2 separate regions of the Homo sapiens genome follow, and region 1 is linked to region 2. Evidence: promoter capture Hi-C in human tissues and cell types (Jung and others, 2019). All regions are on one chromosome and are shown on one strand. The core of a region is centred on a gene start or on the middle of the fragment in contact, and the rest is flanking DNA. Distances in the headings are between cores, read along the strand shown. Region 1 overlaps PACS1 (phosphofurin acidic cluster sorting protein 1). Region 2 holds the start of RCE1 (Ras converting CAAX endopeptidase 1).

Evidence for each region. Contacts are between HindIII fragments. The study calls those that stand out against the background at their distance.
Region 1: a contact is called between a fragment that was not itself captured here and the fragment with the promoter of RCE1 in region 2, in 1 of the 25 tissues and cell types used here (liver).

Annotation. Positions count from the first base shown.
Region 1 is chr11:66,171,621-66,174,320 of GRCh38, reverse strand. The region is part of intron 1 of PACS1 (phosphofurin acidic cluster sorting protein 1); the gene reads right to left. Among named protein-coding and RNA genes, the nearest start is that of KLC2, 85 kb to the left of the region's middle. The HindIII fragment of the contact is 8,093 bases long and covers 1-2,700 here.
Region 2 is chr11:66,842,150-66,844,849 of GRCh38, reverse strand. It overlaps RCE1 (Ras converting CAAX endopeptidase 1), which reads right to left and starts at 1,409. Exons shown (of 8, transcript NM_005133.3): 1 at 1,210-1,409; 2 at 989-1,091; 3 at 811-894; 4 at 486-564. The coding sequence starts at 1,394. TOP6BL (TOP6B like initiator of meiotic double strand breaks) reads right to left here. Exons shown (of 15, transcript NM_001302084.2): 14 at 1,781-2,001; 15 at 1,334-1,681. The coding sequence ends at 1,616. RefSeq lists an enhancer at 832-1,538 and silencers at 1,179-1,618, 1,729-1,868. The HindIII fragment of the contact is 26,172 bases long and covers 1-2,700 here.

The DNA.
Region 1 (2,700 bases), core at 129-2,628, 670 kb after region 2:
CCAGCAATGTATGAGGGTTCTTGTTTCTCTATATCCTCACCACCATTTATTATTGTCTGCTTTTCTGATTAAGGTCATTCAGTAAGTGTTATCTTATTACGGTTTTTTGATTTTTTTGTTATTTTATTTAATGTGGTTTTAATTTGGATTTCCCTCGTGACTAATTTGCCTTTCTCAAGCGACTAATGATTTTGAGCATCATTTCAAGTGTTTATTTGGCATATCTTCTTTGGTAAAATCTCTATTCAAATCTTTTGCCTTTTTTTTTTTGAGACAGAGTCTTGCTCCGTTGCCCAGCTGGAGTGCAATGGCACGATCTCGACTCACTGCAACCTCCACCTCCCAGGTTCAAGTGATTCTCATGCCTCAGCTTCCTGAGTAGCTGGGATTACAGGCGCGTGCCACCAGGCCAGCTAATTTTTGTATTTTTAGTAGAGACAGGGTTTCGCCATGTTGGCCAAGTTGGTCTCGAACTCCTGACCTTAGGTGTTCTGCCCACCTTGGCATCCCAAAGTGCTGGGATTACAGGTGTGAGCCACCACGCCTGGCCCGAATCTTTTGCCCATTTTTAAACTGAGGTGTTTGTTGAGTGTTAGGTTCTTTTTCTTTTTGAGATGGAGTTTCGCTCTGTCGCCCAGGCTGGAGTGCGGTGGCATGATCTTGGCTCTCTACAACTTCTGCCTCCCGGGTTCAAGCGATTCTCCTGCCTCAGCCTCCCAAGTAGCTGGGATTACAGGCACACACCACCATGCCCAGCTAATTTTTTGTATTTTTTAGTAGAGACAGGGTTTCACCATGATGGCCAAGCTGGTTTCGAACTCCTGAGCTCAAGTGATCCGCTTGCCTCGGCCTCCCAAAGTGCTAGGATTACAGGCGTGAGCCACTGCGCCCGGCTGAGTGTTAGGTTTTTTACATAGTCTAGATACAAGTCTTTTATTTGACAATGGACTTTTAACAGCAATAATGGAACTCAGAAGAAAATAAAAAATGTCTTCAATATGCTGAAAGAAAATAATTGTGAATACAGAATTGTATATATAGATAAAATATATTTTAGGAATGGGCATTAATTAAAGACATTTTCAGATGGCTGGATGTGGTGGCTTATGCCTGTAATGTCAGCACCTTGGGAGGGTGAAGTGGGAGGATTGCTTGAGCCCAGGAGTTTAAGACCAGACTGAGCAACATAGCAGGACCCTGTCTCTACAAAAAAAAACAAAAAAAAAAAACCAAAATCAAAAAACATTTTAAGATAAAAACAGAGTTTACTACCAGAATACTCTCACTAATGTATATTAATTACTGCTGTGTAACAATACTGATAACACTTTTTTTTTTTTTTTTTTGAGACAGAGTCTCGCTGTGTCACCAGGCTGGCGTGCAGTGGTGTGATCTCAGCTCACTACAACCTCCGCCTCCCGGGTTCAAGCGATTCTCCTGCCTCAGCCTTCTGAGTAGCTGGGACTACAGGCACGCGCCACCACGCCCAGCTAATTTTTGTATGTTTAGTAGAGACGGGGTTTCACCATGTTGGCCAGGATGGTCTCGATCTCTTGACCTTGTGATCTGGCTGCCTCGGCCTCCCAAAGTGCTGAGATGTGAGCCACCGCACCTGGCTGCAAAACACATTTATTATCTCACAGTTTCTGTGTGTCAGAGATTCAGAAGCAGCTGGGCTAGGTGGTCCTAGCTCAGGATCTCTTGTGAGGTTGCCATCCAGTTGGTGGCTGGGGCTACAGTCACTTGAGGGGGCTGCAGGATCTGCTGCCCGTGTGGCTGCCTTGCAAGGCTGGCAAGTTTGTACTGGCAGTTGACAGGGAGCCTCAGTTCCTCTCCACATGGAATCTTCCCAGGACTGCTTGATAACCTCATGACATGGCAGCCGGCATCCCACAGTGAGTGGCCCAAGAAAGAGCAAGGCAAAAAGGTGCAACGTATTTTATGACCCAGCCTCAGAAGTCACGCTCCATCACTGCTGCAACGTTCCAATGCTTACACAGGTCAGCCCTCTTCGGTGTGGGCGTGTGAGTCACAGAGAGCCACAGTCATAAGGGAGACCGTGGAGGCTGGCTCACACATTTCATGAAGTGTCTTAAGGATATACCGTAAAAGTAAGGAAAGGTCCCAGAAAGAAGATCAAGGATAGAAAAATAAATGATGGACAAAGAAAACTGTAAAAATATAGGGAAATTTAAACAAACATTGCTTTTATAAAACAAGAATGGCAATGTCTGATTTACGCACAGTAAACGGTACGGCAAGCGTGGTGGGAGGAACTGACTGAATTAAAGCATTTTTTAGGGCCTTTAATTGTTTCAGAAGAGAATGGAAATTGACTAACTTTAAACTCTTAAGTATTCACATTCAAAGCTTGAGAGTAAACTAAGAAAATAAAAGTTGAATGTCTATCTTTCGAATGCATAGTTTAGAAAAATGGAATGAGGCCGGGCGCGGTGGCTCAAGCCTGTAATCCCAGCACTTTGGGAGGCCGAGGCGGGCGGATCACAAGGTCAGGAGATCGAGACCATCCTGGCTAACATGGTGAAACCCCGTCTCTACTAAAAATACAAAAAATTAGCGGGGCGTGGTGGTGGGCGCCTATAGTCCCAGCTACTCGGGAGGCTGAGGCAGGAGAATAGCGTGAACCTGGGAGGCGGAGCTTGCAGTGAGCCGAGATTGCGCCACTGCACTCCAGCCTGG
Region 2 (2,700 bases), core at 160-2,659:
CAAGCTGTGAGTGACGGGCTGTCAGACAGTGAGACCCCAGAGGCTCCAAGGGCTCCTCTCCCACAACTTTACCCTGGCCAAACTCAGGTTAGGCATCAATACTGCTGAGGACGGGGGTGTGGACCCAACATAAACCCAATGTCTTGAGATGACCTGAATGGAAGGCATTAGCTGAGGCAAGGGCATCCTGGAAGTAAACTCTGGAGACACCAAAATTTAAGCAAGACTAGCTCTGGTTGGGGAAGCAGGGGACAGTGCTCTCTGATCCACACCAAATACTGCTGGGGGTTCCCAGGGAACTCCTTGGACGTTGGCAATCAACCCTTAGAGGCCACCTAGCTCTATGTTTCCATTTTACTGATGAGAAAACACACCCAGAGAGATGACATTTCACGTGTCCAGATCACACCCTGAGCCCGCTGACTCCCTGCCCCAATGTCCTGGACTGCCTGTGCCTACTTTTCCCTTCAGCCTTTAAGACTCACCCAGGACAACCTTCAGCCCATCTGCCAGGTCACAAGGGCAATCCATAGAGAGCTGCATCAGTGGGCCCAGGAAAAGAATCTGAGGGCAAGAAAACACTTTCACCATAACCCACCGCTTTTGCCCAGACCTTTGCCCATGCTCCCTGAGACTCCAAGCTTGAAATCCTCTCCAGCCACGATTTCCAGACCATGCATACCGGAGGACCCTGGGGCCATCTCAAAAGTCCTGTCTCCCATCAACCAAAAACCAAAAACAAGAGTCCACGGCACTGCCCATCAGGCTGATAACAAAGACCAGAAGAAAAAATACAGCAGGAGCACTCACCATGGTCAGCAACAGGGGCAGCAGCGCCGCTGGGAAAATGCCCTCCAGCCTGAAGCCCATCAGGGTGAGCAGGGATGTGCCTGGCTGAGCCACAGGAAAGGGGGCATCAGTTTTGCTTCCTCCCCTAAAGACCCCTGAGCTCTCACCGCCGTTGCCCTTTGCCCCGCCTCCTTCGCACCTGGATGCCTGTGAGTTCCCTCCAGAGCAGCACGCACAGGGGTGAGAGACTGGACACCACCAGGACGCTGGTGAAGCGTCGCTTGATGACCGCGGGATGGTCCCTACGGAGGGGACAGTAAGTTCAGGGGGCCCGCGGCTGCCCATGAGCACGGACCCGCCCCCGGCTCGCCCAAGCTCCGCCCGCAGGGCGCGGATTCCGGTCGCGCGCAGCCCCCGCACCTGGGCAGTTCGCTCTTCCAGACGTAGAGGCTGCCCACGTAGGAGCAGGCGAGGCTGAGGCAGGAGAACACTGACACCCAGCAGCACAGCCCGGGGCCCAGGCCGCCCAGCGCCGCCGACTCGGGCGGCCGCTCCGGCCGCGACACCGACAGCAGTCGCAGCCCATCCCCGCCCAGCGCCGCCATTGCGCCCTGACCCGCGGCGCGCACCAGTGACGCAGTCCCAGGGAGGTGTGGGTGACGTCAGGCCGCGGCGCGGCTCCACGCCCCGCCCCGCCCCGCCCGGGCCCGACGCGGAAGCAGACGCGGAAGAGGACTTGGTGAGCGCGCGGCAGCTTTATTAAACCACGGGATAACGGCTGCCCGCAGCCTCCGGATCGGTGGGCGCTTGCGGAAGGGGACCCGGCTCAGGGCCCAGGGCTGGGACTCAGCCACTCTGACAGGTTGGAGACCTCCTGCAGCCACAGCACGTCCTGCGGGAACAAGGGGGCCCGGGGTGAGGACCTCTCAGCAGCGGCCCGTGGCCTGCACCTCCTGCTGAGCCCTTCCCTGCGCGGCCCTCGCCCAGTTACCTCCAGGCGGCTTCCGAGGCTCGCCCTGCCCGGCGCCAGGGCCCTGCCGTGAGCCTCGCGGTGCTCCCTTCCTCTAGGAGTGAGGGGGGCCGCGGTGGCTTCCGGGCGGCGCGGGGCGGCCTCTGACGGGCTCGGGGCCCTGGCAGAGCGCAGAGCTCGCATCTCCTCTATGCGGGGGCTGCCCCTCTTGAGCCTCTTGTTTTCTGCTTGCCCGCTGGTATCTAGGAGAAAAACAAGCCTCTTCATCTTACTTTCATGGCCCTGTGCTAGGAGCACCCTTGGCCAAGGGGAAGCCTGGGAGAACGGGCGCCGAGGGGCTCTTCCCACCGCATCCCTGTCAGCAGGTCCCATCCACACCAAAACCCTGCAGCTGTGGGCGCTTCTGGAGCAGCCCGAGGCTGCAGAGACGTTTCAGGGTCTCCCTATTCTCTCACCCAGGCGGGAGATTGTCCCGAGCCCTCACTTGGGGGACTCAGGCCGCTCAGTAACTTTCTGTATAGATTCTTCCTGGAGTCTGCACTGACAAGCTCCCCTCCCTGCCAGCCTCTGTCCCCCCTCACCTTTCTGGCCTCAGTTCTGTCTCCCTTTGTTGCTCACGTTGCATTGAGCAGTGCCCATAGGCAGCTTTCCTACTCTTAACTGATTCATTTGTCAAATTAAAGCGAGTTTAGATGGATAGATTCTTCCCCAGCAGGTCTTGGGGATGCAGATCAATGAGCTTTTCCCTGAGAGAAGCTCACAGATGCTAGGAGGGGATGCAGACCTGTGTACAAAGCCCAGGGTTAGAATAGAGAAGGAAGCCGACCACCTCTGGATGTGAAGAAGGGTTTCCATGAGGAGATACCTGAGCTGACCTTTTGTTTTTTTGAGACAAGGTCTTGCTCTGTTGCCCAGGCTGGAGTGCAGTGGCTCAGTCCTGG